Linked DNA regions of Homo sapiens: all the other regions are linked to region 1. Evidence: promoter capture Hi-C in 16 types of primary human blood cells and fetal thymus (Javierre and others, 2016). All regions are on one chromosome and are shown on one strand. Each heading gives the region's core, a stretch centred on a gene start or on the middle of the fragment in contact. The rest is flanking DNA. Distances are from core to core; before and after follow the strand shown.

Region 1 (3,756 bases), core at 579-3,078:
TATGATGGCTTATGACAGTATACAACATGCATCAAAAACAAACTAAAATTTGTCTAAAAGGTATAAGGATTCCAGTGAAAATGAAATGCCAATTCTCCAAAGTATTTTGTCTGTTATCCAATCTGTAATACCTTCTGCTTTTCTTCCTTTTTATCTGCCTGGATAGATGGCAAATACCCAATCTTTTATCGTGACACATTAGTTTAAATTCAGGACTATCCATCTTGGGCAAAGTATCTTAATATAATGTACAAACCACTTACATTTAATTATTGTAAATATATAAATGAAACTTCTCTCCAAATTATCCACATGAAAATATACAATGCCAAATATTAACTAATTAAGAATACATATGTTCAACTACAAGAAATAAGTCTGAATATCAATCAACCTCACCACGTCCACTGATACCTCTTTGAGCATTTAGAAAAGAACACTGTGCCTGCCAACCAGTTTAAATTTAAAAAATCCCAAAAACCAGAAATGGAGGGAGAAACTGGGTAACTTACACTAATTTTTTTAAACTATTTTTCTCCAATTAACATTTAATTTCCAAAAGCATCTTGGCAGGTATACTTGAGCACAACTGCATGCAAAGATATAGTTCTTGCATTGAGATGCGTTAACAAAAACAGAAGCAATCCAAGTAACAAAAATAACTTACTGTGATTTCTAAGTGGGCTATATCTCTCATGATACCACTTCCTAAACAGATCAACACCATGAAAAAACCGAATTCCCGAATAGAACTAATTCTTCCAATCACTATATCACCACGCTCAATATCTCGGAAAAACAGCTCTCTCCGATCCATACTAGGTATCTCCATGAATTGCTCTAAAGGTGGCATGATTGCATAATGATCTAAAAAAAAAAAATTAACAAAATCACTAACGATAGTTTTGAGTTCCGTTTCACCTGAAGTACTGTTAAACCGAACCGCAATCTTAAAGATTTTAAGGCTAAACTGACCTTCACTGTCTTCATTAATTTCAGAAGTTGCAGGTGCATCTGATTTCCAGGAAAGTGCAAAAAGCAGATCCGCTTTTTTGGAGATGAATTTCTGTATCTCGATGTTGTCAACTCTCTTCTCTTTTCTTAAAAAGAAAAAAATATATATGAAAATTGGGTTATCTGCAAAGCCTCTTTACTTCTAACCTTCTGCTTATGGCTTTCATCGCCCATTCCGCTCCATCCTAAGCTGCAGACAATACAACCTCAGACAAAAAGTTTTAACTAGGCATTCCCTCATTAACCAACCTGGAGGTGGAGAGCGGGGAAACTTAAAAAGTGACGCCTCCAACTCAGATAGGAAAGCTCAAGGGATTTTTAGCTAAGGAATCTGCGCCTCTACCAAGCAGTGCCAGAGAAAAAGTTCAGCCCGCATCCCGCATTGCACAACCCAGGAGCGCCCCCCGTCCACCCAGCCCAAGACACCAGCGCGCGATCGTCCTGTGCTCACGGCCGCGGCTCCACTTCCTCTAGACGCAAACCCGGGGCTGCGGTAGTGGCTGCCAGAGCTGCGTCCCCTCTTCCGTGGCGCAGTGGCACCAACGTCTCATTACCTGCCCTGCAACGGGTGCTGGGGCGGCGGGCCCCGGGCTGGCTCGGCGGCCGACCCCAGGAGGCTACGGAAGTGTGGATTGTCCTGCTGTTCGCTCCGAAGTAGAGAGAGCAAAGACGACCCGTGGCAATTTAGCGACTGCCGCAAAAGGTCCCGGTCCATGGCTAGAGAATGCAGGGCCCGGAGGCCGACGGGCTGATAGTTCCCTGTTCCGTGTCCGCTACTTGAGCCGGGTGGTACAGGAAGCGGAAGAAACTGTCTGGAGGCTGCCGGAAGTACACAGACAGCACAACCAGTTACACCCGGAAGTGTTCTGGGGTCGCCCCCACGGCGGCGCGGCGGAGCTCAGCCTCGATCTCGCGAAACCGAGCGAGACTACGGAAGGCCGAAGGATTGGGCTCAGCATTGCTTGGGCTAAAGGCTGACTAGGGCTTCCAGGAAGTGATGTATGTGAGAAGTTTGCTTTTTAAAGTGTACGTGGGATCGTTATTACGTCGAAATAGCTCGAGCTGTAACCTAGGGTAAATAATAATTCCTTTTCGTATTCATCAAGGTGCTTCTAAGTGCCAGTGCCAGGGTAAGAACCCTATACGAGTCTCCAAGCTTCTTCCCTCGACGTACTCTCTGCGTAAATCAATACCTGTGTCTCTGGCGTAACCCCATTCAACCGGCTGCTCCGGGAAGGTTTCCAGGTGGTTTTAAGGGCAGAAGAAAGGAAGGACACGGACATTTGTTAAGCACCTGGAGTGGTGTTCTCCATCCATACCCCATTTACTGTTAGTGATTGTGAATTCTAAAACCAGGATGGCTTTAATGTCTCCACACGTGCATATGCCATTCAAGTTTTACAATAACTAATGAACACATGCATTTCTTATTTAGTTTATCTCAATGGTTGCTCAAAATTTAGTGTCTGTGGGACTTACTGTATAGTGGTATGTACGCAAAAGTCAATATACTGTTCTTATGGACAATTCAAGTGATTTTCAAAGGGAATTTCAACTTAGGTCCCCCATCCCCTTACTTACTGACTTGAGAACCTAACCACTATGGTAGCTATTGTACTTTTTCATTTTAGAAAACGAGGAAACATGCTCAGAGAGTCCCAGTAAATTGCTCAATGGCACACAGCTAGTAAGAGGCTAGAGTTAGGATTCCAAACGAAGTATTAATTGGTCTTCTCAGGCAGAGTTGCTGGATTGAGTATTTTATCATATGGAAGGTCTAACTAACCCTAATTTTGAGATCATGTAGCTTCGTTTTATTCCAGTATAAAATTTGTACCATTTAAATATGTTCAGTGTAAATAGTTCAGTATAGTCCTCTTGAACAGAAATAAACGGTGACAGTTAGTCTCTCCACTTCCCACCATGTGTCTTTGAGGAAATCAACTTGCCTTTCACTGTGTTACCACTTTTGTATAGGAGATCTAGCCCAGAACATAATCGATACTGCCACACTGTTTTGTGGAAAACCCAGGCAAATAGGTAAACAGTTTGAGACTTGAGAAAATGCAACAAACAAGAATGCAACTGTAAAAGATAAATTTGGGTTAGGCACGGTGGCTCACACCTGTAATCCCAGTACTTTGGGAGGCCGAGGGTGGATCACTTGAGGTCAGGAGTTCAGAGACCAGCTTGGCCACCATGGCCTAACCCCGTCTCTACTAAAAATACAAAAATTAGCCGAGCGTGGTGGCTCATGCCTGTAGTCCCAGCTACTCGGGAGGCTGAGGCACGAGAATCTCTTGAACTCCGGAGGCGGGGGTTGTAATGAACTGAGATCGCGCCACGGCAGTCCAGCTTGGGCGCCGGAGGGAGACTCCGTCTCAATAAATAAATAAATAAATAAATTTCAAGCTTCTATAGGCATATCAACTTTAATAAATGGTACAGACTGACTTGTTTTAAGCCATAACTCTAGAGAATGGTTGTTTTTAGGAAAGAGTGCTGTCACTGAAAAGGAAAGCTGACCACTAAAAATTATTATAGACATCTTGATAAGTATGTGATTTGTGTTAGAGTCAATCTGTGATCAAGGACCTCATTTTTTGGAGGGACTAAGAAACCGGTGTCTGAGAACCAGACACCAAATAGTGTTACTTAGCCTGGGAATGTCACCTTCTGAGGCCATTCTTCAGTAGCACATGGTTTTATCACTATGGGATCTGTCTATACTTCTTCCTAATT
Region 2 (3,756 bases), core at 336-2,835, 980 kb after region 1:
ATAATTTTGGAATTACATATTTACTGATTTAATTATCATCAGAGATCTCTGTATGACACAAAATCCCAAAAGCTAAAGACTGTCAAACCTGACAATAATTATAAATGAGTAAATACATAGAAAGTAATTAAAACACTGATATTAAATGTACTCAAAAATTTATTAGCGGCCAGGTATGGTGGCTCACGTATGTAATCCCAGCACTTTGGGAGGCTGAGGCAGGCAGATCACTTGAGGCCAGGAGTTCAAGACCAGCCTGGCAAAACCCGGTCTCTACTAAAAATACAAAAATTTGCGGGGTGTGGTGGCGGGCGCCTGTAATCCCAGCTACTCGGGAGGCTGAGGCAGAATCGCTTGAACCCGGAAAGCAGAGGTTGCAGTGTGCCGAGACCACGCCACTGTACTCCAGCCTGGGAGACAGAGCAAAACTGTCTCAAAAAAAAAAAAAAAAGAAAAAGAAAATATTATTAGTTACTATTACAGATTTGTTACCTGAAAATGTAAAAACACTTCTGTGTTGCAAAAATTTCTACACTGCCAAAAGACAATATATAGAGAAAGAAATACACATAGCCAGGTGCAGTGGCTCACGCCTGTAATCTCAGCATTTTGGGAGGCCCAGAGGGTGGATCGCTTGAACCCAGGTGTTTGAGAGCAGCCTAGGCAACACGGTGAAACTATGTCTTTACAAAAAATACAAAAATTAACTGGGCATGGTGTCATGCACCTGTAATCTTGGCTACTAGGGAGGCTTGGGTGGGAGGACAGCTTGAACCCAGGAGACCAAGGCTGCAGTGAGTCAAGATCATGCCACTGTACTCCAGCCTGGGCAACAGAGCAAGACTTTGTCTCGGGCGGGGGGAAGAAAGAAAAGAAATACACACAATTAATAGATATTAAAAAAACTACTCAACTTTACAAAGAAATATAAAATTGAAATGATGAGGTAACATTTTTCAATTACCCTATCAACAAAAATGTTTCACTTTGATAAATTCCATTACAGAGAAACATGGAAAACTGAAACATGGAAACTGATGAAGAAACAACTGGTGCAACTTTTTGGAGAAGAGTTTGGCAATATCTACCCAAAGTTTAAAAGCATGTGCTATTTGGCTTATTAATGCCACTTCCAGAAATTTATTTTCCAGATATGTTACATAAATATGCAAACAATATGGGGGAAAATTAAACACAGCAGTATGTACAATAGCAAAAAACTTGGAAAGAACCCAAGTACCAGCAATAGGGGACTGGTTAAAAAAACACAGGCACTCCAAGTCAATCCTAAGCCAAAAGAACAAAGCTGGAGGCATCACGCTACCTGACTTCAAACTATACTACAAGGCTACAGTAACCAAAACAGCATGGTACTGGTACCAAAACAGAGATATAGACTAATGGAACAGAACAGAGCCCTCAGAAATAATGCCGCATATCTACAACTATCTGATCTTTGACAAACTTGACGAAAACAAGAAATGGGGAAAGGATTCCCTATTTAATAAATGGTGCTGGGAAACTGGCTAGCCATATGTAGAAAGCTGAAACTGGATCCCTTCCTTACACCTTATACAAAAATTAATTCAAGATGGATTAAAGACCTAAATGTTAGACCTAAAACCATAAAAACCCCAGAAGAAAACCTAGGCAATACCATTCAGGATATAGGCATGGGCAAGGACTTCATGTCTAAAACACCAAAGGCAATGGCAACAAAAGCCAAAATTGACAAATGGGATCTAATTAAACTAAAGAGCTCTGCACAGCAAAAGAAACTACCATCAGAGTGAACAGGCAACCTACAGAATGGGAAAAAATTTTTGCAATATACTCATGTGACAAAGGGCTAATATCCAGAATCTACAATGAACTCAAACAAATTTACAAGAAAAAAACAAACAACCCCATCAAAAAGTGGGCAAAGGATATGAACAGACACTTCTCAAAAGAAGACATTTATGCAGCCAAAAGACACATGAAAAAATATTCATATCACTGGCCATCAGAGAAATGCAAATCAAAACCACAATGAGATACCATCTCACACCAGTTAGAATGGTGATCATTAAAAAGTCAGGAAACAACAGGTGCTGGAGAGGATGTGGAGAAATAGGAACACTTTTACACTGTTGGTGGGACTGTAAACTAGTTCAATCATTGTGGAAGTCAGTGTGGCGATTCCTCAGGGATCTAGAACTAGAAATACCATTTGACCCAGCAATCCCATTACTGGGTATATACCCAAAGGATTATAAATCATGCTGCTATAAAGACACATGCACACATATGTTTACTGTGGCACTATTCACAATAGCAAAGACTTGGACAAGCCAAATGTCCAACAGTGATAGACTGGATTAAGAAAATGTGGCACATACACACCATGGAATACTATGCAGCCATAAAAAATGATGAGTTCATGTCCTTTGTAGGGACATGGATGAAGCTGGAAACCATCATTCTTAGCAAACTATCGCAAGGACAAAAAACCAAACACTGCATGTTCTCAGTCATAGGTGGGAATTGAACAATGAGAACACATGGACACAGGAAGGGGAACATCACACACTGGGGCCTGTTGTGGGGTGGGTGGAGGGGGGAGGGATAGCATTAGGAGATATACCTAATGTTAAATAATGAGTTAATGGGTGCAGCACACCAACACGGCACATGTATACATAACTAACCTGCATGTTGTGCACATGTACCCTAAAACTTAAAGTATAATTAAAAAAAAAAAAAAAAAAACAGGCACTCAGCACCATAAGAGAGGGGAAAAAATATATGTGTCTAGCTTTTTAATATGTATATAAAATATAATGTATAAGAAAGAAAATCCACATAGCTTTCCATAACAGCATATATCCCTTTCTTTTTAATGGCCACATTATATATTTCACTGGATGGATATACCCATCCATCTGCTTCCCAGCTGGGGCAACAGAGCAAGACTTCCACTCTAAAAAAAAATTCAAAAATTTAAAAAAGAACTCTTTAATCTGACACATATCTCCTAATAGTCTCCTTGTCACCAGTTTATAGTTTTCACTCCAAACAAGCTAATTCTATCTTTATCCATTTTTTTTTTCCTTTGGAGACGGAGTCTCACACTGCCACCCAGGCTGCAGTGCAGTGGCATGGTCTTGGCTCACTGCAACCTCTGCCTCCTAGGTTGAAGTGATTCTTCTGCCTCAGCCTCTTGAGTAGCTGGGATTACAGGCACGTACCACCACGCCCGGCTAATTTCTGTAGCCTCCCAAAGTGCTGGGATTACAGGTGTGAGCCACTGCATCTGGACGTATCTTTATCCTTTTACATAAAGTATCCTATAGTGCTGAAATATTCATAGTTTTATTAATTTTTTCTGGTGGTTTGCTACCTTAGGAAGATTTTCTTTCCCACCTACCCCCTCGTTTTTCCTACCGTAATTCAGCCTTTTCAGCTTCAATCTGAAGGACGGCCATTGTTCTTTCATATATCTTTTCAGGACTATCATAGAAATTACGGGCAATCCATCTTGATATGGGATGCTACAAGAGAAAATTCGTTTAATATTAGTCCATTTCTGAATAATACTTTGCTTTTCTAGTTGACTATTCTTTAAAATGATCATTTCAGTTAGATAAACCAGTAACATCTACTATGTAACTAATATACCTATATATAAAATAATTTTAACAGATGAGGTGGATACTATTTTTGTCCGCATTTTAAAGATAAGTGAATTGCACAAAGTTACGTAGCTAATAAATG
Region 3 (3,756 bases), core at 602-3,101, 950 kb after region 1:
AGATCCTCTCAGCGAGCTTTTGCTTTGAATTTAGTCTCATCAGCTTATTACCTTTCACGTTAATGGATGATGTTTTCTCCAATTACAGAGATAAACTTGGTTTTACAAAACTTAAAATTTAATCTTAGATTAAATACAAATTAAATCAGTGAGACACTGTTTTTCATCCTTTGGGCTGGTAAAGATATATTGAGTTAGCATGGGTTTGGGAAGTAGACCCTCATTACATTGTTGGTGGGGATAAAAACGATAAACCTCTTTGGAAGGAAATGTAATAATACCAGTCATAACTTTATATGTGCATACTGTTTTCCCCAGCATTTCCTTGTCTAGACATTTATGCAACAGATAAATTAAGGCTGTGTAAAGATATTTGTTAGAGCACTGTTTCGAGTAACAAACGTCTGGGGAAAACCTAAAGATCCTTCTGTAGAAAGTGGTTAAAATACAGTACCATTGAAAAGAATGAAGTTGCTCTACGTGTGCTGATGTGGAACAATCTCCAAATTATTACTAGATGATAAAAGCAATTTAAGCAAACTAGTGTATAAAAGCAAGGAATACATGCAAGGCTGATAATATGCAGTAGGCATTTTGGCACATCCTATATACCATGGGCCTTCATTCCAGTTGGTTGTACTTGTAGTAAATATTTTTAATGTAGCCCCTTAAAATATACATATGTGTATGCATGCCCACTTGTTTGGCTTTAGGATGTCTCTAGAGCAATACACAAGAAACTAGTCAGGCTCTGTGGAGAAGAACTGAAAGCCTGAGGTTAAGGGAGAACTTACTACCTGGTATGGTAGGGCTGTGTCCCCACCCAAATCTCATCTTGAATTCCCACGTGTTGTGGGAGAGACCCAGTAGGTGGTAATTGAATCATGGGGGCAGGTCTTTCTCGTGCTGTTCTTGTGATAGTGAATAAGTCTCACAAGAGCTGATGGTTTTACAAACGTGAGTCTCCCTGCACAAGCTCTCTCCAGTTGTCTGCCTCCATCTGAGACGTGCCTTTCACCTTCCACCATGATTGTGAAGCCTCCCCAGCCACATGGAACTGTAAGTCCAATAAAACTTTCTTTTGTAAATTGCCCGGTCTCAGGTATGTCTTTGTCAGCAGCGTGAAAACAGATTACTACACTACCACTTTGTAGCTTTCTGTATGATTCCATTTGTATTATGTGCAAGTATTGCTTTTTCCCCCCCTTTCTTTTTGGAGATGGAGTCTCCCTCTGTCGCCCAGGCTGGACTGCAATGGCGCGCTCTCAGCTCACTGCAACCTCCGCCTCCTGGGTTGAAGCGATTCTCCCGCCTCAGCCTTCCAAGTAGCTGGGACCACAGATGCACGCCACCACGCCAGGCTAATTTTTTGTTGTTTTTTTTTTTTTTTTTTTGTAGAGACGGGGTTTCGTCACGTTGGCCAGTCTGGTCTCCCACCTCGGCCTCCCAAAGTGCTGGGATTACAGGCGTGAGCCACCGCGCCCGGCCTCAAGTATTGCTTTAAAAGTTAATTAAAACTCAGCCATCGCTCTCCAACACCAGCGCCGCCTGTCACTCGCCACGCTCCAGCAGAAGAACGGGTCTAAGTAAGGAGGTCACTATACCATGGCTGGTACAAAGCTGACTGCCCAAAAATCAATTGGTGGTAAAGAACCCAGGAAGCAATCCCAGCACTTTGGGAGGCCGAGGCGGGTGGATCACGAGGTCAGGAGTTCAAGACCAGCCTGGCCAAGATGGTGAAACCCTGTCCCTAGTTAAAATACAAAAAAAAAAAAAAAAAAAAAATAGCTGAGCGCGGTGGCAGGCGCCTGGAGTCCCAGCTACTCGGGAGGCCGAGGCAGGAGACTCGCTTGAACCTGGGGGGCGGAGGTTGCAGTGAGCGAAGATCGCGCCACTGCACTCCAGCCTGGGCGACAGAGTGAGACTCCGTCTCAAACAAAAAAAAAAAAAAAACAAAAAGCAAAAAAAAACAAACAAAAAAAACTCCAGGAAGCAACTAGCTACAAACGCCGCAAGAGTGCGCCCTCTACTGGACGGGTGAAGAAACCTCATCATTACAGACCTGGTACTGTGGCACTCGTGAAATTAGACGTTATCAGAAGTCCACTGAACTTCTGATTCGCAAACTTCCCTTCCAGTGTCTGGTGCGAGAAATTGCTCAGGACTTTAAAACAGATATGCACTTCCAGAGTGCAGCTGTTGGTGCTTTGCAGGAGGCAAGTGAGGCCTACCTGGTTGGTCTTTTTGAAGACACCAACCTGTGTGCTATCCATGCCGAACATGTAACAATTATGCCAAAAGACATCCAGCTAACACACCACATACCTGAAGAATGTGCTTAAGAATCCACTATGCTGGGCACGGTGGCTCACGCCTGTAATCCCAGCACTTTGGGAGGCCGAAGCGGGCGGATCACCTGAGGTCGGGAGTTCGAGACCAGCCTGACCAATATGGAGAAACCCCATCTCTACTAAAAATACAAAACCAGCCAGGTGTGGTGGCGCATGCCTGTAGTCCCAGCTACTCAGGAGGTTGAGGCAGGAGAATCGCTTGAACCTGGGAGGCAGAGGTTGCAGTGAGCCGAGATCGCGCCATTGCACTCTAGCCTGGGGCAAGAAAAGCGAAACCCTGTCTCAGAAAAAAAAAAAAAAAAAAAAAGAAGCCACTATGATGGGAAACACTTCATTCTAACACACACACACACACACACACACACACACACAATTTCTTTTACCTGTTGTTGGTAGTTCTGAACGTTATCTATTTTTTTTTTCCCATGGGGTCAAAACGTACTAAGTATATATGATTGCGAGTGGAAAAATAGGGGACAGAAATCAGGTATTGGCAGTTTTTCCATTTTCATTTGTGTGTGAATTTTTAATATAAATGTGGGGACGTAAAGCATTAATGCGAGTCAAAATGTTTCAGTGAACAAGTTTCAGCAGTTTAACTTTATAATAATTATAATAAACGTGTTAAATTTTTCTGGACAATGCCAGCATTTGGATTTTTTTAAAAACAAGTAAATTTCTTATTGACGGCAACTAAATGGTGTTTGTATCATTTTTATCATACAGTATATTCCATCACTATACTTTCTGTGTTGTCCTACATGCAAGTACATTTTTTTTGGTTTTTGTTTGTTTTGTTTTGTTTTGTTTTGTTTTTGTTTTTAAGACAGTCTCACTCTGTTGCCCAGGCTGGAGGGCAGTGGTGTGATCTCGGCTCACTGCAACCTCCACCTCCCGAGTTCAAGCAATTCTCTGCCTCAGCCTCCTGAGTAGCTGGGATTACAGGTGCCCGCCACCATGTCCGGCTAATTTTTGTATTTTTAGTAGAGACAGGAGTTCACCATCTTGGCCAGGCTTGTCTTGAACTGCTGACCTTGTGATCCACCCACCTCGGCCTCCCAAAATGCTAGGATTACAGTCGTGAGCCACTGCAACTAGCCCATGTTTTTAAATGTTGTCTGTCTTCTGTGCTGTTCCTGTAACTTTGCTATTAAAATACATTAAACTATAAAAAAGTAATTAAAACTCAATTGTAAAAACACTACAAGTTCAATGACTAGTAATAGTAATAGAAATTGAAGTTGCATCACTATAAAAACGCATTCCAACTTTTTTCATATAATGGCACACGTTGAAAATGATATTTGTACAACCCACTGAAATAATCAGTCAAGGATGTGTCTTTTAGCCAGAGCCTACTAATCTGAGGACTCTGATCACCACAGGTCCCATCCACGGCCTCTCA
Region 4 (3,756 bases), core at 898-3,397, 920 kb after region 1:
TAATTTCATCTCTTGTTTTCTCTCACTTTGCTTAACATGCTTTTCTGTAAACTTAGGCTACAAAATTAGCCAACCTTTCCTCAAAGGAAGTGGATTTTCTTAAGCTATGGTTAGTCTCACCTGTCCAAATAATAAAAATAATAATAATAAAATAATGTAAAACTAACTTTTGAATGCCTGTCAAAATTGCCAATAAATACCTTACAAAATTCCTTACAGTGCATTTCAGTAGAGCACAAAGTACAATATCAAAACAAACATTGATGTTTATTACAAATATATTTAAAAATTGTTTAAAATTCCAATAATTTTGTTTAAAATTTGTTTAAATTCCAATAAAAATTGTTTAAAATTTGTTTGTTTAAAATTTATTTGTTTAAAATTTGTTTAAATTCCAATAAAATTTTTTAAATTCCAAAAAATTGTTTAAAATTCCAATAATTGTTTAAAACTCCAATAAAGATTGTTAACTTAAACAATTTTCTAATAATCAAATTCTCTAACATTGTATCTGGAATTTCTAAGTGAGGATATAAACAGTCCTCTCACAATGTGAACACTTAACAGCATTAACTCAAGTATGTGCCTCCTACTGTAGCATATACATTGCAATAAGCAAACTAAATAAATAAATAAATAAAAGGTATAAAGATCACAAAGAAAGAAGTAAAGTGGTCTCTATTTCCTAATGACAGTACAGGCCATATTGAAAATTCTAAGGAATCTACACACACTAGTGAAAATAACAACTAGTAAGAGCAATAAGTGAATTTAGCAAGATCACAGGATACAAGTTAATAGACCAGAGTCAACTGCAGTTTCAGACATTAGCAACAAACACTTGCAAATGAAATTTTTAAAGCTTGACTTCAAAACAGCATCCAATCCCAGCATTTTGGGAGGCTGAGGCAGGCAGATTGTTTGAGCCCAGGAGTTCAAGACCAGTCTGGGCAACATGGAGAAACCCTGTCTCTACAAAAAAATAATAATACAAAAATTAGCCAGCCTTTTGTCCCAGCTACTTAGGAGGCTGAGGTGGGAGGGTCACTTTAGCCCAGGGAGGTCAAGGTTGCAGTGAGCCATGATTGTGCCATCCAGCCTGGGTGACAGAAAGAGACCCTGTCTCAAAAAAAAAAAATAGCATCCAAAAAAGCTTATAATTATAATATAGCTTGTGCTTGTGGATAACTTTTCTGCCTTTACCTGAAATCATTTAAATAAAATTAGAAAAGTCCTTCAACTAGAGACAACACATTACATGCATTTAATCAACAGATTAGGTAAGTATTTTCAAGAGTTTTCTAAATAAACATGTTCTTTGGATAGATAGACCTCCTAAGAAAAACATACTGCATCACTATAATAGTCAATTATTCATTAAATCCATTGTGATTTTTTTAAAAAGTTCCATTCTCTTCTAATAAAATGTAATTCAGTCAATGAATTTGAACCAGAAGATTTACTGGGGAAAATATGGGATCTGTAATAGAGGTCATGCTCTGTCACCAGCTAGCTCTCTGGCCTAAGGCAGGCTGCCATATAGGGCTCTGAGCTCCAGTGTTCTCCTCTATAAACATGGCCGTAGCAATAATTCCCACGACACAGAGTTGCATGAAATTTAAAGGGGGTGAAATATATCAAAGTGCTTTCTGTGCTATATGGCAATACATAAATGTTGTTTATTATACATTATGGGCTAATTATTATTATCTCATTATCTGAATCATTTTATAATTGGGGAAAACAAGCAGGAGGAAGAATAAGTGAGTCTGACAGCCACATAGGCTGGGAGTAACAAATATTAATCTGTCAGAAAAAAACACTAGGCAACTAGTAGAAGAACCAAGAAATTAGCAATCAGAAGAACAAAAATGTTCAAGGACAGTATTTTTCTAAAGAAAAATATAGAAATACTCTATATCCAAGAGTCTATAGTTTCTTAAGTAATCATAGTCTTTGCTAATTTCATTGTCAAGAGTTTTTTACTTATTAGGGAATCTGATGGAAATTTATTTTATTTTATTTTATTTTATTTTCTCATTGAATTTTGTTCTTGTTGCCCAGGCTGGAATGCAATGGCGCGATCTTGGCTCAACGCAACCTCCACCTCCTGGGTTCAAGTGATTCTCCTGCCTCAGCCTCCCAAGTATCTGGGATTAGAGGCATGCGCCACGACACCCGGCTAATGTTGTATTTTCAGTAGAGACGGGGTTTCTCCATGTTAGCCAGGCTGGTCTGCAATTCCTGACCTTGTTATCCACCCACCTCGGCCTCCCAAAGTGCTGGGATTACAGCGTGAGCCACTGCACCCGGCCAGAAATTTAACATACCAGACATGAATTCTCAATTTCTGAAGCCGCTTGATAATGTCACGAAGTCCATAATCAAAGAGAAAAATTATTTGACACTCAGAGAGGAATGGCCACATAAGGAAGGATTTCATTATAACATCAACAGGTGGCCGGGCACAGTGGCTCACGCCTGTAATTCCAGCACTTTGGGAGGCCGAGGCAGGTGGATCATTTGAGGTCAGGAGTTCGAGACCAGCCTGACCAACGTGGTAAAATCCAGTCTCTACTAAAAATACAAAACTTAGCTAGGCATGGTGGCAGGTGCCTGTAATCCAGCTACTTGGGAGGCTGAGGCAGGAGAATCGCTTGAACCCAGGAGGCAGAGATTGCAGTGAGCCGAGATCATGCCACTGCACGCCAGCCTGCGCAATAGAGCGAGGAAAAAAAACATCAACAGGCATGTTCCACTGGACACCAAGGCTGGCCACAGAGGTAGTGTGTGCCCCTTTACATGGCCAGTGCTGACAGGGAGGCACTGCCCAATACATTCACCAGTAGTTCTTAAAATTCAGGGAACATTAACACAGAAAACCCTTTCAAACCTGTCACATATAGAACAAACAAACACCCCAGTCTAATAATCCATGCTTTCTTCTCTCTTGCCCTATTAATACCTAAATATTGGTCCTATCATACACTGTCTTTCACATACAGAGTCAGCACCCGATGGCCTCTGCTCCCAACAGCTTCTTTCAATCCTGATAAAAAGTCTATGTGGATAACTGTCTCCCAATTTCCTTGTGACCAAAGCACAGAGAATGGTATACAGCCCACAATCAAGCTAAGCTTCTTGACTCACAGTTTCAAACCCTCAACCTCATCCTCTCATTAACCAGCCATCTTCTCACTAAGATCACCACCCAAGAAAGCATGGTAAAGCGCATGCCTCCATGTGGACAAAAGGGCAGCCAAGCAATCAGGCCAGGTTCAAGATGACAGTGAAATGCAACTGGAAGAATCAAAGGACAGTGTATGAGTCCATTCTCACACTACTATAATGAAACACCCGAGACTGGGTAATTTATAAAGGAAAGAGGTTTAACTGACTCACAGTTCCGCATGGCTGGGAAGGCCTCAGGAAACAAAATCATGGCGGAAGGTGAAGGGAAAGAAAGGCACCTTCTTCACAGGGCGGCTGGAAGGAGAAGTGCTGAGCAAAGGGGGAAAAGCTCCTTATAAAACCATCAGATCTCATGAAAATTCACTCACTATCACGAGAACAGGATGGGGGTTACCAACCCCATGATTCAATTATCTCCCACCAGGTCCCTCCTACGACATGTGGGGATTATGGGAACTACAATTCAAAGATAAGATTTGGGTGGGGACACAGCCAAACCATATCAGGCAGGATACAAAATAAAACTTTTTTTAAAGTAATGGTGGTAGACAGCTCTATTAAATT
Region 5 (3,756 bases), core at 892-3,391, 910 kb after region 1:
GGGTGCCTCAGAACACAGTTTGGGAGCCGAAGGGTTAATGGCTCCCTAGGGACTACAGAAAAAAGAAATCTAAAAGCATTACTTATGTATAGACAATCGCTGAGAGAATACACAATATATACAAAGATGTACACACAGAAAATTTGTCTCTGGAGGCAGTAACCAAGTGGCTAGGATACAGGGAAGGGAGGGGAAAAAAACTTAATTTTCACTGAGGAGCCCTTTATAACTTCTCAATTTTAAGCTTTACCCATGAGGTACATATTGAAAAAAAATTTTAATCCTAAATGTTTTAAAAGTATAGAATTTAAATGATTTTTCAATTACCAATAATTGTCGTTGCTAGTTAAAAAAAAAAAAATAGCAGCAAAAGCTAGTACTGAGGTCATTTCACTTGAATGAACATCAAAGTAATATGGAGGGAAAGTGATTTGACCACTGAGAGGCAGGGTGCTGCTCAGGACACCAGGAAGCCTTTTGGCACCAGCCAGTGGCCTCAGCTTCCCTTGTAAAGTCAATTGCAGGTTGTAACCAAATGATTCAATGGTTTCAATGTCACTGTTGAGCTGATGGAAAAGGAATTATTCACAAAGTCATCAAATGAATGGGAATAAAACACCTCCACCCAAGATAAAGCATTGGCCACCTACATCTGCTTCATGAAGCCGAAGAAGGAGCATCATAATTTCATTTCAGTACCAGTGAAATAGTACTTCCTAGCCAAAAAATAACAGAGAAACTGCAAGAGAGCTCTGAGTTATCTTCCTCTCCATGAGGAAACAATCCCAGCATCCCTTTGAGGGAAAGAGTCTGTGGCAGAGGCTACTAGCTGCCTCCCAATACCCACTGTCCCCTTCTTCCTAATAAGAGACCCCAACTTTACTCAGCGGAGCCCGCTGGTGGGCTTTATTTTCCAGTCTCCTGTGCAGCTAGATGTGGCCACGTGACCAAGTTCTGCCAGAGAGGCGTAAACTGATTGGGGGCTCTATGAGAAGGCTGACAAAGGCAAGGTGACTCTGCTGGGAGATTAGACTATTTTGTCCTTCCTCTTTCTCCTCTTTTCTTTGTTTCTTTTTTTTTTTTTTTTTTTTTTTTGAGATGGAGTTTCACTCTTTGCCCAGGCTGGAGTGCAATGGTGCGATCTCAGCTCACTGCAACCTCCGCCTCCCAGGTTCAAGCAATTCTCCTGCCTCAGCCTCACAAATAGCTGGGATTACAGTCATGTGCCACCATGCCCAGCTAATTTTTTGTATTTTTAGTAGAGACAGGGTTTCACCACGTTGGCCAGGCTGCCGAACTCCTGACCTCAGGTGATCCACCCACCTTGGCCTCCCAAAGTGCTGAGATTACAGGCATGAGCCACCGCGCCCGGCCTCCCCTTTCCTCTTTCATGCTTTCCAGAATCAGGATGTGATGGTTGGAGTTCCAGTAGCCATTTTGGACCGTAAGGTGACCATGAGGTTGGAAATCATGGGCCAGGATGGAGGGTGAAGCAGGAATATGGGAAGAGCCTAGATCCCTGGTGAACATGAGGCCATCACATCACCACACTTACTGTTTCCCAACATCCTCTACATGACAGCAAAATAAGCATCTATCTTGTTTAAAGTTACCAGAATCGGCCGGGCACAGTGGCTCACATCTGTAATCCCAGCATTCTGGGAGGCCAAGGCAGGCAGATCACTTGAGCCCCGGAGTTTGAGACCAGCCTGGGCAACATGGCAGAACCCTGTCTTCACAGAAAAATACAAAAATTAGCCAGGCATGGTGGCGCATGCCTGTGGTCCCAGCTACTTGGGAGGCTGAGGTGGGAGGTTCACTTGAGCCCTACAGGAGGCCGAGTCTGCAGTGTCCATGATTATGCCACTGCACTCCAGCCTGAGTGACACAGTGAGATGCTGTCTCAAAAATAAATAGGCCAGGTGTGGTGGTTCACGCCTGTAATCCCAGCACTTTGGGAGGCCAAGGTGGGCAGACCACCTGAGGTCAGGAGTTCGAGACCAGCCTGACCAACATGGTGAAACCTCGTCTCTACAAAAAAAAAAATACAAAAATTAGCTGGGCATGGTGGTGGGCACCTGTAATCCCAGCTACTCGGGAGGCTGAGGCAGGAGAATTGCTTGAACTCGGAGGGCGGATATTGCAGTGAGCCGACATCACACCACTACACACCAACCTGGGTGACAGAGCAAGACTCCGGCTCAAATAAATAAATAAATAAATAAACAAAGTTACTAGTGTTTTAAATTTACCGTTACATAAACCAGATGTAACCCTAATACACAGCCCATCACTGAAATTAATTTATAGGTCACATTAACTCAGGGCTGGGACCAATGTGACAAGAGAAAAGTGCCTGTTCCTAGGAGATGAGAAGCATCAGTTGAGGGGGCTTTAAATCAGAACTTGCAAAAAATGAATTCCTGTAAAAAATAACTTCCTGGCCAGGCACAGCAGCTCACACATGTAATCCCAGCACTTTGGGAGACTGAGGTCAGAAGATTGCTTGAGCATAGAAGTTCAAGACCAGCCTGGGCAACACAGTGAGACCCCATCACTTTAAAAAAAATTTTTTTTAATTAACCATGTGTGGTGGTGTGTGCCTGTAGTCCCAGCTACTTGGGAGGCTGAGGCATGAGGATCACTTGAGCCTGGCAGGGTGAGGCTGCAGGGAGCTATGATTGTGGCACTGCACTCCAGCCTGGGCAACAGAATGAGTTCCTGTCTCAAAAACCGAAAAAGAAAGAACTCCTACTGGGATGACGGAGGTAAATTTGTAAAGAACCTGGATATAAAACAATAGGGAGAAATGGAATGTGGGGCTAATGGCATTCATTTTTAAATTAATATAGTCATAGAACACTTTTTTGGGGCTGTGAGTTCTATATGCACCTTGTGGTTTTCTAAGATATGAAATCTTGCCTGAATACAGAGAATAACCTGTAGAAAAAGCCTCACTGAAACAAAATGGTAGGTAGTCCCCTACGGAAGAATGGAAGGAAGGGGTCCACACAGTTTGAAGCACAAAACCTCAGTGCTAACTTTCAAATTAATTTCTAAAACAGTTTCCTGACAATATCCTCTACAACCAAAATAATCACTAGAAAAAAATCAAACCTCCAGGTCTTATGAAAAGAAGACACAAAAATTAAAGGCCAAGGTCAGCTAACTTCTTCATTCAACCAAAGAAAATAATAAAAATTAACAATGGTAAGTCGAAATGTTTAGTTAGTTCTGCCTTCAAGAAGAACCTGCTGACGTTACTTAATTCAAATGAAATCATATGATCTATATTAGTGCAAAGGTGCTGGAAGACTAATAACCAAAGCATCAGAAGATATTCAATAATTTCAGCTTTGGGGTTCATGCTAGCTTGGTTTGGGTTTAGTTGGTTAAACTGGGTTGTGGTCCAAAGACAGGTTGAGAAGTAAGGAAGATTGGCCAAGGTAGAAGAACCAACTGCAGATAAGCCTCGTACAGAAAAGCATGAGCTGAGAAGCAGGAGAAGACAGCAAGGTTGGATCCAGCACAGAGTAACTGAGAATCAAACCAGGAAAGAAACTCAGCTCCACAACAGTTTTCAATGGCTTCACTTTTCAAATAATTCATGTGTCTTTTCATCACAGTAACATGTTTGTTACAGAAAAAGTTTAAATATAGAGAAGCAAAAAGATGAAAATCAGAATCACTTCCATTCTATTACCGGGAAAGAGCTACTATTAACAGTTTGGAGTATTCTTCCAGACTCTTCTGATC
Region 6 (3,756 bases), core at 666-3,165, 850 kb after region 1:
CAGCCAACTACATGGGCTCTTTCACATGCCATGTTGTTTAAATGGCTCATTTGATGTTTTAAGCAAAAGCACGCAAAAGATACCTACCAAATTTTTTGGGAACCCAGTCAAGACCAAAAGTGAACTTCTTTATCTGCACTACCAAGTATTCAGGGAATGAAGCAAAGCGAGATGTTCTGGGAAACACAAGGGGATATATCAATGAAACAAGGCAATAAGAATTGTGAATACAGTTCAAAAAGCATATCAACTTTGTCTGAGGCACACCTGGCCATTCCAATGGCTGAACTGAAGAGGAGGAACATGCAAACACAGACATGTAAGTGGACACACATTCGCTCTCCCCTGCTCATTTGTCCTGGCCTCTTCACAAGAAGAAAATGTTTAATGTAGAATGTTATCGTTTAAGAATGCTTTTGGGTAGGTGCGGTGGCTCACGCCTGTAATCCCAGCACTTTGGGAGGCCGAGGTGGGCAGATCACCTGAGGTCAGGAGTTCAAGACCAGCCTGGCCAACATGGTGAAACCCCGTCTCTACTAAAAATACAAAAATTAGCCAGGCACAAAAATACAAAAATTAGTGGGGATTGGGGCACGCCTGTAATCCCCACTCGGGAGGCTGAGGCAGGAGAATCACTTGAACCCCAGAGGCAAAGGATGCAGTGAGCTGAGATCATGCCACTGGACTCCAGCCTGGGCAACAGAGTGAGACTCCATCTCAAAAAAAAAAAGAATGCTTTTGGACCTGTTTCAAAATTGTTACTTTTACTTTGCTGTGGTGTTCTATATTTCTGAAAAGTGCTTTTCAACCATTTATTTTTTCTGAAATCCTTGCTAGAGTTTAGTATACATAGTTTTAACTGTTTACAGCATGCATGCTTGGTATACATGTATGTGGGGTTTGAAAAGTCTCCCCAGGTGATCCTGAAACACCCCCACCTCCACTTCCACTTCCACACAGAGTCACTGTCTTATAGCGCAGAGTTGGCGGACGAAGGGCTTACTGCAACTTTGGCTGAGGTTGACTATTGGAAATGCCAGGGCCTCATTAAAATACTGCGGTACTTAATCCATGGCCACATGGATCCTAGGGGTAGACATATTATGGGATAAGTATCCAAAAAATCTGAATCTGGGCCTTGAAGTTTAAAATTAATACACATTACCAGTATCTTGAATCCTCTTCAAACTTTCAGAAAGGCTCAATTTCCTGGGCATGGATTTGGCAATTTTATACACAGACTGTTCAACCTGTACACCAAATTCATACCCTAGTTCCAGCTCATTCACTCCACATTTATCATTTTGTTTTTAACAACCATTTCTATTTGTAGTCAATGTGGGTGTGGTAGGTATATGTAAAAAAGAAAATGAGCTGTTTATAGGTATCACAGATACCTTTTAAAATAAAAAATTCTAGAATATCCTCCCCTATTCCACTTTTCAAATCTAAGTCACTGCCTTCTATTTGTAATGCATCTTCTGTTAGAAAACAAATGCAAATGTATTGCTTCCCCCTAGTGTCAGAGAAAAGGCACAGCGCAGGGACAGAACACGGGGCAAAAAACAGTCAAACGATGTGGATGTGGGTCTTGAAAATGCCACTTCATTCACTCCAAATCTGGGCAAACCACTGACACTCCCTGATCCATCTACAAAATGGACTTACTAATCATGTCTACCTGCCAGGCCGTGCAATGTTCATGAAATGATGTGAAACCGCTTGGCGCACTAGAAAGTATTGTATATACCTAAGGAATTAGCATGATTATTTTGTCATGAAAGAGGTAAAAGCTATAAAGCCTTGGATGCTGAATTGAACTGTCACTTATCTGTATTTTACCTCCAGGCAAGTTATTTAAATTCCCTGTATCTCAAATTCTCCATTACAAAGTTGGTAGAAGAATAAAGGCAATTCAGAAAACAGGAGCTTTATCATCCCAAGCAACTAATCTACTATTAGCCAGGCTCACTCTCCAGAAATTATATATTATCTCTAATTAGGTTTTTCTATCTTCTGAGAAGCAGTAATACACATTATTCTTATTTAAATGTCACCAAGTCCTCAACTGCACCAAAAAAACAACAAACTCTGTCTGATATTTTATATATATACATATATATATATATATATACACACATATATATATATATATACACACACATATATATATTTATTATTATTATTATTATTTTGAGACAGAGTTTTGCTCTTGTTGCACAGGCTGGAGTGCAATGGCGTGATCTCGGGTCACTGCAACCTCTGCCTCCCGGATTCAAGTGATTCTCCTGCCTCAGCCTCCTGAGTCGCTGGGATTACAGGTGCCTGCCACCATGCCCAGCTAATTTTTGTATTTTTAGTAGAGATGGGGTTTCACCATGTTGGCCAGGCTGGTCTCAAACTCCTAACCTCAGGTGATCCACCCACCTTGGCCTCCCAAAGTGCTGGGATTACAGATGTGAGCCACGGCACCCGGCCATGATATTTTAATGTAAAAATGTTCTTTTTCTTACCTACTCTTCCTACCATATTAGCTTAAAATCTGGAAAATACATAACAGTGAAATCAACCAAAAGACATTGGTAAACCAATAATTTCCAAAATATGACTCAGGATCCCTGAGACTCTTGAAGCTGCTCTGTGGTCAGTATCTAGGCGGAGTGTTAGCTGTAATACCATAATAGCGGTAGTGGAATAACTCAAGGTTGGGGCAGGGATAATTTAACACATCACTGTGTTATAGGTAGCCGCCAATCTAAAAGTACCAGAAAGTAGATTTAGATGGTGTTCACATAATATTTGCCCTATTGGGTAAAACATTCTTTATTCATCTTTGTAATCTCTATAGGGTCTCAAGTTGAATCGCTCACATGTAGTAACTGTTCAATATATATCTGTTCAAATCAATCTCAAAAGTTATGCTTTGCATTCATTTATTGCAGTTTGGGGACATCAAGTTAGTTAAATCTAGCACAGTTATAAATTATGCTCAGCTTATTCTTTTATTTCTAAAATTAATTTCTGGAATTAAAATATTTCTTGAAAAATGATATGTTTTAAATAAAGATCATTAGAATGTAAATCATTCAAAGAGATCTAGATAGACAGCAAATTTTCTTCAAAGAGCTGTTATGGGAATTAAATGATTTAAGACATATAAAGTGCTTAGAATATGTCCCAACAACAATACTGTGTTGTTGTTAACAACCTGTTAGCATTATTTAAAATATATTGATTGTTCACTAAATCACAATTAAGGCAAAAATACGATAAAGATTTTATTGAGAAAGAAATATAAACTGTACCTCTTCCTGACATTAAGACATTAAGATGTCTACAGTATTGAAAACCTAACAACTAAAAAAAACCATAATCTTCCTGTCTACTGGTTGAAAATATGACCATTAATCCACCACACTCAAATTATATCATCAAAGACAAAAAAACGAAGATAAACATAACAGAAATAACAACTCCATCCTATATTTGCCCTGTGTGAAGCACTTTACATGGCTTATCTCACTTAATCCTTACCCCAACCCTGTAAAGAAAGTACCATTATTATCCCCAGTTTACAGATAGGGAAGCTGGGCTTATGGCAGTGAGATCACTTGGCCAAGGTTGCATACCAATAAGTTCTAGACTGGGCATTCAAACATTGGGCATCTACCTAGAGTCTGTGCTCTGCAACCCCACACTATGCTTTTCTCTTTATAAATGAGAATGGGTAAGTAAAAATCTCTCCCTCTCAACTCT
Region 7 (3,756 bases), core at 785-3,284, 830 kb after region 1:
TACAGCAATGACTATAAAACTACTAACACACTACTGATTAAAGATCTCATATTTAGTGATGTTACCTGCTAACTTGTAGATTTTTATCTAGTAAAGATACAAAAAAATTCTGTCCAGTAGAACACATATCCTCAAGGATGTATAGATTTATAAATTGGGGTATAAACTGGTAATATAATTATTTCAAGGATTTATGGTCCTGACAGACACTGACTAATTTTTAACCTAACCTGGCAATCTCATCCTAACATTTCTTTTTGAAATTGTCTTTAAATATCCTAGTTCCACAAATGTTTTTAAACCAGTAGTAACATCTGACTGATTCTCTCATTAATTAATGAGTTTTTTAAAATCTGTGATATGTGTTCATTTTACATTTACCTGAAAGTCATGATCTTGCCTTTTGGAAAATTATGCTTTAACAAGTGTAATGACCAAAAGCAACTCTGGATTCAGAAGTGTCTTTAAATGAATTTAATTTTATAAGCCATTATAGCATCTAAAATATTTACAAAGCAGCAGTATCTCATCAGGGCATGACGCATTATTTAGTTAGTCTACAGAGAGTGCTCAGAACACAGAGACATCAAAACACTCCCTAAAATAACTACCAAGACCCCAGAGGCACAGCAGTCCTCTGGTGAGAAAAACTGGGTTCTCATCCAATGCTCTTTACTTGATTAATTTGTGTCATTGCCTATCTCTAACTCCCTCTGTACAAAGCGGGGGAAATAAAATTGCCAACTTACTAACATTTGCCTCATAAGCACCCAATATCTGGGTATTTATCTGGGATATGCTTTTCCCCCACAAGGTATTCATGAGGGATCCACTCCCATGACCCAAACACCTCCCACCAGGTCCCACCTCCAACACTGCAGTTTGCATATCAACATGAGATTTGGAGGGGACAAACATCCAAAGTATATCAGGCGCAATATACAACAAGTTCAATCTCTCCAACAGCTTGATTTCCCCTCATGCCCTCTCTGAGAAAAAACAGTGTGGGAGGGAGGAGTATTTGGAGCTTTCAGAAATTTCTGAATTCTCAAAAAGAGAAGACAGACCTAGGTAAATCAATAACATCGGAAGGCAGCTGATAGCAACAGAATTGTAAAGGGTCTACGAATTGCTTCCCCCAACCCTAGCCAGCTCCAAATTACCAGTCTCTCGGTTACAATGCCGAATGCTCCGAAAGGCAAACACTTCCTTCCAAGTCTAATAGTTCTCCATCATTTATCCTTCAGTGTAAATCAGTTTACTCAAGAGTGGCTGCCTCTTAACTTTCAACAGCACCGCTGAAAAAATTAGGAACTGCAACAAGTGCTAAGTGGGAGGAGAATTAGCACCAGTGGCATGAAGTGTCTATGTGACTTTCCAGTCGACCACTGGGGCTTAGCTTCCCTGGGGAGCTGTACCTTTTGCCCCCTAGATCCTCTTCTGGGTGGCATTCCTCAGGGAGCTCAGCACCTCAGGAACCCCAGCGTTATGCAAATGAACGCCTCTCTGCTCCCTGCCTGGAAAATCTCAGCAGCATCGGAGACATCTAAACCATTACACCAAAGTGGCTGAAGGAGCCAGAGCAGGCTCTGAGTAATCACAGCCTAATCACATGTTAATTTCATTGGCAATCAGTGAGTTCTTTTCTTAAGAAAAATTAAATGCTCATTAAGTGAAACATGAAAACAGAAATGATTTTGCACATAGCAGAAGCCCCGATAGGTCAGAGTGACGGCCTGATTTCTAGCTTTAAAGTTTTAAAAAACTCAACAGAAAGTTAGGTGCTAGCCCTAAAATGTGCAGAACATGGTAGAAAATAGACTCTCGTCTCCATTCCAATACAAAATGTGAAATAAGATGACTCAATCGGGGATAAAGGAAAAACTGCACAGCCTTCAAAATCAAACAGGCCTGAATTCTAACCTGGTTCTACCACTAGCAAACCACTTAGCTTTGTCACCACTTCCTCATCAGAATACCTCCCTATAAGCAGTGAAGGAAAAGTGGTCAAGGAAGTGCCTGGCACAGAGGAGGCATTCAGGAAATGACAGCCACTATTTCATCAAGTGTTAATAGCACTAACCTTTTTAAACAAATTAGACGCCATTTAGATAATCGTTTCATGCAGTAGCATTACTTCCACATTCAGAAAAATGGAAACAGTGATTTTTAATTAACATATTCCTAAAAGGAAAAATTTGATACCTGTACTTCTTTAATCCCTACCCTTGTAATAATAGCTTTTTTCCACTTCATAACACCTACCTTATTATTTCAGTGTTAACCTGGTGTGACAAAGTCCCAGTAGCCACGACCCTCCTTCTTAAAGCAACAGTAACCTAACACTGCTTTTAAGGTGGTAATTCTCAAGTTTAAGCTGCATCAGAATCACCTGGATGTCCTGTTAAAACACAGATTACTGGGCCTCACCCAGAGTTCCTAATTCAGCAGGTCTGAAGTGGGGCAACATCAGTCCTAACAAGTTCTCAGGTGATTCTATTAGTCCGAACCACACTTGAACCAGTGCTTGAAGGAGATCAACCTGTCCCTTCTCAGCTCAGGTGAGAGGATGGAAGATGTCTCCACCCTCAGGTTCTAGGAGTGAGGCCCATAATGCAGGCCTGAATCAACCTGCCTCAGTGACTTGGAGTAGGACAGGGCACATAACGGAGTCTCACAGAGTCTCAGGCTCTCAGGACCTTTGCTGAGAACTCTGGGACAAGACTTAGCTAGATTTTAACCTGGAAAGATATAGTTGTGGGAGGCGCTGCAGCCATCTTGTGCCATTAGGGAGAGCCTGTCTGGGACTGGAACCAACCTAGAGGAAGCAGAGCCAAGGGGCCCATCCAGCTAAAAGGATTTGAGTCCTGAATCACGGCAGGCCTGCAGCCCAGTGCCCCCAGGACTTGCCAGCTTTCATGAGAAAATATTTCCCTTTTTGCTTAGACAGATTTGTCTTGGACTTCTTGCCACTTAAAACCCTGAAAACTGAAGTTGTTTTTATTTTGTTTGTTTTGGTTCCTCAAACACCAATTACCCCTACTCTTTAATTGTATTCAATATTCTCAGCTGGGTGCAGTGGCTCACACCTGTAATCCCAGCACTTTGGGAGGCCAAGGCAGGCAGATCACAAGGTCGGGAAATGGAGACCATCCTGGCCAACATGGTGAAACCCCATCTGTACTAAAAACAGTATAAAAATTAGCTGGGTGTGGTGGCGCGTGCCTGTAATCCTAGCTACTCCAGAGGCTGAGGCAGGAGAATAGCTTGAACCAGGGAGTTGGAGGTTGCAGTTTGCTGAGATGGCGCCACTGCACTCCAGCCTGGCGACAGAGCGAGACTCCATCTCAAAAAAAAAAAAAATTCTCAAGTCATATACCTCAGTCAATTCACCAACCAGAAAAAGTAAAAAGAAATGACTTGGGAATTTAAACAACCTAGCTAAACAGAACACACATCTTCCCAGGTTAACCTATAAATTTAATGTAATGCCAGTCAAACCCCTAGAGAATGGCCAATTACAAAATCGGTACCTTTATATAATTTAGCAGCAATGTTTAATATACAATGGGGAAAATTTGTATTCATAAGTAACAGTGAAAATGTAATTTCGAGATATAACTAAACTAGAAATGCCTAGCATATTTATGAAGAAAACCATACAGCTTTGCAAGAGTTAGAAAAGGGGCGAATAAATCAAAGGAGAAGCATATGTTTCTGGCTAGAAAAACTCAATATTGTAAAGTGATCAGGTAT

What was found. Contacts are between HindIII fragments. The CHiCAGO score rates a contact against its expected background, and 5 or more counts as called.
Region 2: a contact is called between a fragment that was not itself captured here and the fragment with the promoter of TTC14 in region 1, in 1 of 17 cell types (naive CD8 T cells). The highest score is 6.3, in naive CD8 T cells.
Region 3: a contact is called between a fragment that was not itself captured here and the fragment with the promoter of TTC14 in region 1, in 16 of 17 cell types (naive CD4 T cells, total CD4 T cells, non-activated CD4 T cells and 13 more). The highest score is 16.3, in naive CD4 T cells.
Region 4: a contact is called between a fragment that was not itself captured here and the fragment with the promoter of TTC14 in region 1, in 1 of 17 cell types (endothelial precursors). The highest score is 5.2, in endothelial precursors.
Region 5: a contact is called between a fragment that was not itself captured here and the fragment with the promoter of TTC14 in region 1, in 4 of 17 cell types (M0 macrophages, M2 macrophages, M1 macrophages and 1 more). The highest score is 7.9, in M0 macrophages.
Region 6: a contact is called between a fragment that was not itself captured here and the fragment with the promoter of TTC14 in region 1, in 5 of 17 cell types (M2 macrophages, M0 macrophages, endothelial precursors and 2 more). The highest score is 12.1, in M2 macrophages.
Region 7: a contact is called between a fragment that was not itself captured here and the fragment with the promoter of TTC14 in region 1, in 7 of 17 cell types (endothelial precursors, M2 macrophages, M0 macrophages and 4 more). The highest score is 16.0, in endothelial precursors.

What each region holds. Positions count from the first base shown.
Region 1 is chr3:180,600,235-180,603,990 of GRCh38, reverse strand. TTC14 (tetratricopeptide repeat domain 14) reads right to left here and starts at 1,828. Exons shown (of 12, transcript NM_133462.4): 1 at 1,569-1,828; 2 at 976-1,100; 3 at 668-867. The coding sequence starts at 1,729. It overlaps TTC14-DT (TTC14 divergent transcript), which reads left to right and starts at 1,878. Exons shown (of 3, transcript NR_183700.1): 1 at 1,878-2,088. RefSeq lists an enhancer at 1,748-2,037. The HindIII fragment of the contact is 2,365 bases long and covers 1-2,172 here.
Region 2 is chr3:179,618,192-179,621,947 of GRCh38, reverse strand. NDUFB5 (NADH:ubiquinone oxidoreductase subunit B5) reads right to left here. Exons shown (of 6, transcript NM_002492.4): 5 at 3,427-3,533. Among named protein-coding and RNA genes, the nearest start is that of NDUFB5, 15 kb to the right of the region's middle. The HindIII fragment of the contact is 5,639 bases long and covers 1-3,756 here.
Region 3 is chr3:179,648,048-179,651,803 of GRCh38, reverse strand. It overlaps the pseudogene H3P13. Among named protein-coding and RNA genes, the nearest start is that of USP13, 3.1 kb to the left of the region's middle. The HindIII fragment of the contact is 5,252 bases long and covers 1-3,756 here.
Region 4 is chr3:179,675,861-179,679,616 of GRCh38, reverse strand. The region is part of intron 1 of USP13 (ubiquitin specific peptidase 13); the gene reads right to left. Among named protein-coding and RNA genes, the nearest start is that of USP13, 25 kb to the right of the region's middle. The HindIII fragment of the contact is 1,984 bases long and covers 1,156-3,139 here.
Region 5 is chr3:179,692,139-179,695,894 of GRCh38, reverse strand. All of the region lies in intron 3 of USP13 (ubiquitin specific peptidase 13), which reads right to left. Among named protein-coding and RNA genes, the nearest start is that of USP13, 41 kb to the right of the region's middle. The HindIII fragment of the contact is 3,789 bases long and covers 247-3,756 here.
Region 6 is chr3:179,748,705-179,752,460 of GRCh38, reverse strand. It overlaps USP13 (ubiquitin specific peptidase 13), which reads right to left. Exons shown (of 21, transcript NM_003940.3): 14 at 88-176. Among named protein-coding and RNA genes, the nearest start is that of USP13, 98 kb to the right of the region's middle. The HindIII fragment of the contact is 6,287 bases long and covers 1-3,756 here.
Region 7 is chr3:179,770,217-179,773,972 of GRCh38, reverse strand. All of the region lies in intron 19 of USP13 (ubiquitin specific peptidase 13), which reads right to left. Among named protein-coding and RNA genes, the nearest start is that of USP13, 120 kb to the right of the region's middle. The HindIII fragment of the contact is 4,298 bases long and covers 1-3,756 here.